Regions from separate parts of the Homo sapiens genome. Here region 2 is linked to region 1. The links are contacts of gene promoters, found by promoter capture Hi-C in blood cells and fetal thymus (Javierre and others, 2016). All regions are on one chromosome and are shown on one strand. The core of a region is centred on a gene start or on the middle of the fragment in contact, and the rest is flanking DNA. Distances in the headings are between cores, read along the strand shown.

Region 1 (4,567 bases), core at 2,068-4,567:
TTGTGGCCTGGGTTGCTCTGTTGCAGTGCCTTGTGACAGCATGGGGTGGGGATGGAGAAAGCAACCTCAGTTACCTTCTCCTCCAGTCTGCTTCTTGGACTAAGGGTTTAACGGTCAGAGTCCTGGCTGTTAAGGTTTGTGGCTGATGCAGGTATGGCTCTTTTTATTTTTATTTTTTTGAGATGGAGTCTCACTCACTCCGTCACCCAGGATGGAGTGCAATGGTGCCATCTCAGCTCACTGCAACCTCCACCTCCTGGGTTCAAGCGATTTTCCTGCCTCAGCCTCCCAAGTAGCTGGGATTACAGATGGGTGCCACTACACCTAACTAATTTTTGTTATTTTTTTTTTTTTTTTGAGATGGAGTCTCACTCTGTCACCCAGGCTGGAATGCAGTGTTGCGATTTCTGCTCACTGCAAGCTCCGCCTCCCGAGTTCACGCCTTTCTCCTGCCTCAGCCTCCTGAGTAGCTGGACTACAGGTGCCCACACCAGGCCTGGCTAATTTTTTATTTAGTAGAGACGGGATTTCACCATGTTAGCCAGGATGGTCTCAATCTCCTGACCTCATGATCCACCCGCTTCAGCCTCCCAAAGTGCTGGGATTACAGACGTGAGCCACTGCGCCCGGCCTTTTTGTTTTGTTTTGTTTTGAGACAGAGTCTCGCTCTGTCGCCAGGCTGGAGTGCAGTGGCGCGATCTCAGCTCACTGCAACCTCTGACTCCCTGATTCAAGCGATTCTACTGCCTCAGCCTACTGAGTAGCTGGGACTACAGGCACGCACCACCACGCCCAGCTAATTTTTGTATTTTTAGTAGAGATGGGGTTTCACCATGTTGGCCAGGATGGTCTCGATCTCTTGACCTTGTGATCTGCCCACCTTGGCCCCCCAAAGTGCTGGGATTACAGATGTGAGCCACTGCGCCCAGCCAATTTTTGTATTTTAAGTAGAGACTGGGTTTCGCCATGTTGGCCAGGCTGGTGTCAAACTCCTGACCTCAGGCGATCCACCTGCCTCGGCCTCCCAAAGTGCTGGGAATACAGGCGTGAGCCACCGTGCCCGGCCAGGTATGGCTCTTCTGAGGGGACCAGGCTGGGGCTGGGGCTGAGGCCAAGCCCAATCTACTGTGGGCTCCACCTGGTACCTCTCCTGGGTCTCAGGCTTATGGGGAGTCAGAGGACAATGGCCCCTCCTTACTCTGCCACTGGCAGAGCCCTTCTCCCTCGGCTGCCTCCTCATTCCCTTTTGGCTCTCCTTTTCTAAGTTCTGATCAGAAGTACAAAGGTGTCAAGGAGTAGGTTTGACAAAGTGTGACAGCGCGTTGTTCTATGTGAACAAAGAACCACTGAGCTCAGCCAGCACTGAGGGGCGCACGATGTGGAAGAACTAACTAGTTTTGATAGAGCTCCTGCTCAAGGTTACAAGGTAAGTTAATGGCAAAGATGGTCATACAGTAATGAGCAGAGAGATTCTTGAGTGCATCCAGGGTTAAAAGTGAAAACTGAGACCACGTGTAATTTGAGATGAAGCCCTTGTTCCACCAGCCCCTGCACAGTCTCACTGCCCCATGGGACACAGGGGAGGGTGCTCTAGTCTCGGGCGATGGCTGTCCTAGGACCACCCCTCCCTCCCCTCCCATGGAAATCCTCATGCTATACTATTCTTTTGTCTTTCCTATGAGTGCAGAATGGCGGTTCTACAAGCTGGACAATTGGGGCCAGGTGGGGTGAGGCAGAGCTCCTTGGTAGGCTTTCGAAATTGAGGCAAAGAGACAGTGTTCAAAGAAAAGCTAAGTGTTTGTATCGACGGAACTTGAAGTGTTAGTGAAGAGGCAGAGATCAGGCCTCAGATCCTGCCTTTGGAACTCATTTGTTAAGGCATGAACAGGTCTGAAAAAACTACAGAATGAATAGCATTCCCTGTTTTCCCCAAGAAGTCCATCTAGACAGTCCCTAAAGAGCCTGCAACTCCAGGATTAAGGGCTACATTCAGCGGCTAGGCACAGGGTTCAGAAACGTCCTGCAGCCGGGCGTGGTGGCTCATGCCTGTCATCCCAGCACTTTGGGAGGCCGAGGCGGGCGGATCACTTGAGGTCAGGAGTTTGAGACCAGCCTGGTCAACATGGTGAAACTCCGTCTCTACTAACAATACAAAAATTAGCCGGGTGTGGTGGTGCATGCCTGTAATCTCAGCTACTTGGGGGGCTGAGGCAGGAGAATCGCTTGAACCCAGGAGGCCGAGGTTGCAGTGAGCCAAGATGGCGCCACTGCACCCCATCCTGGGCGACCAGAGCAAAACTCCGTCTCCAAAAAAAAAAAAAAAAAAAAGTCTTGCAAGTGCATATGCACACCAGGTAGAGCCGGGATGATCCTGGCGCACTAGCAGGAGCGGGAGGAGGAGCTCAACTTAGCAGAGCCTGTGGGGCCCTGCAACAATTAGTTGGAAAAGCTGAGGCATGGAGCAGGCACTTCCTGGCTTTTAAGATTGGGGCCTGGGAGATACTCACCGATGCACCCATGATGATGAATATGTGTGTATCCGACTGATGGAAGGCATCGCCCTGGAAAAGCTCTTCCCGCAGGATCCCGCACACCTGGGTCCGGCTCAGGGCCACCTGCTCTGCCATGACGCTGTCTGGTGGAAGAAAGGCTCGTTAACAAGGCAGAAGAACAGGAGAGCATTGAGAAGTTAGCCCCTTTCTTGAGAGTTCCTCTGGGGTCTCACACCAGGGTGACACCTGATTGCCCAAATCACTCCTTGTGAACGGCTGGGCATTGGGGAGTGGTTGATGGGTTAGAAACTGCTGGCTCTGGGCTCCAGCCACTCTCTCCTAGGCAGCCTTCATTCAGGGTGTACATTACAAAATTACTCAAAGCATTGGTGTATTCCGACTACAGCATCAATTCTGGACAACCGAGTAAAATCCTTGTGGGGCATGGAACTGCGTGCCCAGGACCATCTCATTCCCGACTGTAGCGGGAACTCCACAATGACCTGGAGCATGGGAGATGGTGCAGATGCTGGAGTTCAGCTCCAGCCCTCCCCTTGCCAAGCTGGGTGACCCCGGTCGGCAAGTCCCCTTCGCTCTCGGGGTCTCAGGGGCTCAAGAGAGGAGGTGCGGGGTATAAAGGGATTGGTTAAGACCCTCTCGATTCTGCTCGGTTCTCAAGCACAACAAACAGCGTGTATTTTACCGCCGCGCGGCGCAGCGCGGGACAGTACGCTCCTCCGCCTGCGCGGCGCCCGCCCGGCCGGTTACCTGCGCTTCGTCGTCGTCGCCCTCCGCGCTCGCAGCCCCGAAGTGTACGACCGTTTCCGGGGGCTGAGCCCCGCCGGCCCATTTAATCGGCGGGGGCGGGGGCGGGCGCCTGGGCTGAGCGGACCCGCCTCAGGCGAGGCGTGCGGGGCGGGGCCTCGGCCACCACCCCTCGTGCGGGCGGGGCGGGGCGAGGGCAGGTGCGCGCGCATCCCAGGCCAGCCCCTGCCTCTCGGGCACCTGCGCTGGAGGCCGGCCCGCCGGCTGCCTGCCATACCCGCTGCCGCTGCTCTGCATCCCCAATTCCGGCGGGCACGGGTGCAGCTCCGCGTAGTGCTCCCGCATCCCCATCGCCGGCCCGGCCCCGCCCCTACTGTCCGGTTTCCCCGCCTGCCCCGGCGGCCTCGCGCGCTCGCGGAGGGCTCCACTTCCGCCGGCAGCGTGGCCACGCCTCCTCTGGGCTGTCCCTCGGCTCCTGGGCGGGGCCTTCTGCCGCGCCACTCCCCCGGGAACCCTCGCCTGTTCGCGGGTCAAGCCGGCCCTATTGGGCAGTCTCTTCTTGATTCCTCCCCCGGAGAGGGCGGGGCGGCCGAGCGCCCCGAGGCTAGACGCCGCCGTCCGAGAGACGAGGGGGCGTGTAGGCGGTGACGCCCTGCAAAGTGGCCGGCGTGCTTATCATTACCGAGCTTCCGCGGGCCTGCAGAGCCTGGCGGACTCAGACTTCTCTCCGGAGCGGGATGCGGCCCTACCGCGGCCTCACACTTCTCGCCGGCTTCCCGAGTTCTCGGGGGCGGGGCTTGTGTTTTTACTTCCGGATCCCACAGCTATGACACCGGAAGCCGGAAGCGTGGTAGGGAAGGGCGACCGCGAAACTGGGACTTTCTCGGAGCGCCGGGGCCCTACCAGCGTTCACAGTCCGCCGCTCCCACCCTTCTCACGTCTGACGGACTCTGCTGACAGGTGTGGTCCTTTTCCCCAAAGACAGGGTTCCATCCGTGGGCGTTCCGCCGCCTCCGAAACTTCCCCCGGACGTTCAGGCTCCCCCCTCTTTTTTGGGCCCCAGCCCGTTCCTGCTCCGCGCTTCTGGAGCACTGGCCAAGGCGGGCCGATTCAGGACCCAGGTTACTTGGGCGGCGAGCTGGACTGTTTCTACTCCTCCCTCCTCCTCCACTGCGGGGTCTGACCCTACTCCTTGTGTGAGGACTCCTCTAGTTCAGAGACATATTCTGTTCACCAAACTTGACTGCGCTCTATCGAGGTCGTTAAATTCTTCGGAAATGCCTCACATATAGTTTGGCAGCTAGGTATCT
Region 2 (3,038 bases), core at 539-3,038, 110 kb before region 1:
ACTTCAATGCTTCCCAGGTCACAGGGCCCAGCATCTACTCCTTCCACTGCGAGTATGTCAGCAGCCTGAGCAAGAAGGGTAGTCTCCTCGTGGCCCGCACGCAGCCCTCTCCCTGGCAGATGATGCTTCAGGACTTCCAGGTATGGAGCGGGCGTGGCCCAGCTTCAGGTGGGGGAGCCCAGGCTAGTGGTTGAGAGACGAAGAGAGGCTTGGGCTTGGGCATGTAGTTGAGAGTCCTGTCCCTGCGCTGCCCCTGTCCCAGTTCTTGCTGGGCCTCCCAACGGTCCTTTCTGACCCGTGTCTGTGTGTCTGCCAGATCCAGGCTTTCAACGTAATGGGGGAGCAGTTCTCCTACGCCAGCGACTGTGCCAGCTTCTTCTCCCCCGGCATCTGGATGGGGCTGCTCACCTCCCTGTTCATGCTCTTCATCTTCACCTATGGCCTGCACATGATCCTCAGCCTCAAGACCATGGATCGCTTTGATGACCACAAGGGCCCCACTATTTCTTTGACCCAGATTGTGTGACCCTGTGCCAGTGGGGGGGTTGAGGGTGGGACGGTGTCCGTGTTGTTGCTTTCCCACCCTGCAGCGCACTGGACTGAAGAGCTTCCCTCTTCCTACTGCAGCATGAACTGCAAGCTCCCCTCAGCCCATCTTGCTCCCTCTTCAGCCCGCTGAGGAGCTTTCTTGGGCTGCCCCCATCTCTCCCAACAAGGTGTACATATTCTGCGTAGATGCTAGACCAACCAGCTTCCCAGGGTTCGTCGCTGTGAGGCGTAAGGGACATGAATTCTAGGGTCTCCTTTCTCCTTATTTATTCTTGTGGCTACATCATCCCTGGCTGTGGATAGTGCTTTTGTGTAGCAAATGCTCCCTCCTTAAGGTTATAGGGCTCCCTGAGTTTGGGAGTGTGGAAGTACTACTTAACTGTCTGTCCTGCTTGGCTGTCGTTATCGTTTTCTGGTGATGTTGTGCTAACAATAAGAAGTACACGGGTTTATTTCTGTGGCCTGAGAAGGAAGGGACCTCCACGACAGGTGGGCTGGGTGCGATCGCCGGCTGTTTGGCATGTTCCCACCGGGAGTGCCGGGCAGGAGCATGGGGTGCTTGGTTGTTTCCTTCCTAATAAAATAAACGCGGGTCGCCATGCGTTGGGCCTCTTGTCGCTCATTTCTGCGCTGGGCTTTAGGCGCGTGCTCGCCGGAGGGATGCGGGAGGATGGAGCCTGGCGAGGGGGAGGCGAAGAGGCATCCGCGGAGACCGGGAGGGGCTTTAGCAAGCTGGGCCCTAACCGCTCAGGGTAGGGAGGGGCGGTCGGGCCGAGTCCCGGTGCGCTTCGGCGTCTCAGGAGGCCGTCGTGACAATGGCAGCCTTCGCGTCGTGAGGGGGCCGCCCCAGGCTGCCGCAGCGGCGCGCGCCCGGCCGCGGGGCCGCGCCGAGACTCCCGGGGGGGTGGGCGGGGGTGGGGAGGTGGGCGGGCGCGCGCGGGGCGGGGCGGGGCGGGGCGCGGCGGGTGGGGCGGGGCGCGCGCGGCTCCCGCGCACGGATTCTTCCTGGGCCGCAGCACCGGCCGCCGGCCCGCCCCGCCCGCCCCGCCCCGCGCCTCTCTAGACTCTCGGCGAGCAGCGTCGCCCGCGGAGCCGCGCTGGTGCTGTGGCCCGGGCCCTGGCAGCCCTCCCGGGAGGCGAGCCGGGGAGGCGGTGGCCCCTGCCGGTTGCGGCGGGGCGCGGGAAGAGGCGGGACTCTTTGACGCGGCGGAGGGGTCGGGCGACGGCCGACGCGCCGCCATCTTTGGTCCAGTGCGGTGGCGGCGGCGGCGGTGGCGGCGGCGACTGCTGCGGTGAAGGAGGAGGAGGAGCCGAGCGGGCGCTGGCACCGAGGCCTGACCATGGACGAGGAATACGATGTGATCGTGCTGGGGACCGGTCTCACCGTAAGTGCGGCCCCGGCGCCCCTGGCCCTGCGTCGTGCCCTCGCCATCCCCCGCGATGATGCGGCCGCCGGCCCATCCTCTGGTCACTGCCATCTTCTGCGCTCCGCTCCCCGAAAAGCCGGCGCCGTGCCCACCCCGCTGCTCCCCCAGCGACGTCGCCTCTGCTCGTTGCCATGACCCCATCTCCCCGAAGAGGCCCCCTTCCTGGCCGCCTCCTGGGCTACCCGGGTCCGACCCCCGGCGCCCTCCCATCTTCCCTACCCCTGCCCGCTGGACCGGAAAACGCACCCCCACTCGGCCCGATGCCCACGACCCCGCCCACCCATCGCCCCCACCCATCACGGCATCCACCCGTCGCCCGCACCCATTGCCCGCCTAGCGTTGCCTCTCAGCGTCCGTTCCCATCTTGCGCTAATCCCGGTGGGGATGAAGTAGAAGGACCTGGGGTCAGGGGGCCTCGCCAGAGTGGGCCCTCAGCCCGCCTCCTCATCGTCTTCTGGGGCCAGGGGATCCAGGGAATGTTCCAGAAGGAACAGCAGTGGGGGCAGTAAGCACATTCCCGCAACCCCACCTCGGTTGCCCATGGAGACCTCAGGCTGGGTAGCATCTGCAGCCTTTGTCCTTGGGCTAGTGACAGTGACTGGTGAGGGTGTTTATCTTCCCCCTTTCCCCGAAAACCCCGTTGGCCTACTCCCCTCAGAGACTCTTCTTCCTCGGTCCAGGCCCAGATGCCCCTCCTCAGCGGCAGGGGCTCCTGCTATTTGAAGAAAGAGCAGTCCAGGGTGGGGCCTACAATTTCAAGGACTGTGCTAAGCCTTTCTTTTCCTCCCTTTCGAGTGTCCTTTGCAGTCCAGCTGGGTCTTCTCTGTGCCTTATTGTGTTTTATCCGCCTTTTTGTGCGGCTCTGCGTAGGTAGATGCCTCTCGGCGTGTTGGTACTGGAAGGCCATCCTGTGTCTGCTGGATGCCCTGCCTCCCTCAAAGCCTCCGTTATTTCACTCTCCGCCTTGTGAGGGGGACGGGACTCCTTTGCCCAGCAAGGTTGCAATGGAGAGTGTGGTCGGATGAAGCCATCACCCCAATTTTAGGCGAGGCAACTAGCCAG

What was found. The method cuts DNA at HindIII sites, captures the fragments that hold promoters and counts their contacts. A CHiCAGO score of 5 or more calls a contact.
Region 2: the fragment with the promoter of GDI1 here is called in contact with the fragment with the promoter of G6PD in region 1 in 7 of 17 cell types (total CD8 T cells, naive CD8 T cells, non-activated CD4 T cells and 4 more); the score reaches 8.0 in total CD8 T cells.

What each region holds. Positions count from the first base shown.
Region 1 is chrX:154,543,529-154,548,095 of GRCh38, forward strand. It overlaps G6PD (glucose-6-phosphate dehydrogenase), which reads right to left and starts at 3,318. Exons shown (of 13, transcript NM_001360016.2): 1 at 3,261-3,318; 2 at 2,508-2,635. The coding sequence starts at 2,627. IKBKG (inhibitor of nuclear factor kappa B kinase regulatory subunit gamma) reads left to right here and starts at 4,092. Exons shown (of 10, transcript NM_001099857.5): 1 at 4,092-4,217. RefSeq lists enhancers at 2,354-2,897, 4,200-4,479 and a silencer at 3,200-3,759. The HindIII fragment of the contact is 7,888 bases long and covers 1-4,567 here.
Region 2 is chrX:154,435,366-154,438,403 of GRCh38, forward strand. It overlaps GDI1 (GDP dissociation inhibitor 1), which reads left to right and starts at 1,789. Exons shown (of 11, transcript NM_001493.3): 1 at 1,789-1,934. The coding sequence starts at 1,890. ATP6AP1 (ATPase H+ transporting accessory protein 1) reads left to right here. Exons shown (of 10, transcript NM_001183.6): 9 at 1-140; 10 at 317-1,151. The coding sequence ends at 526. RefSeq lists an enhancer at 1,321-1,821. The HindIII fragment of the contact is 14,364 bases long and covers 1-3,038 here.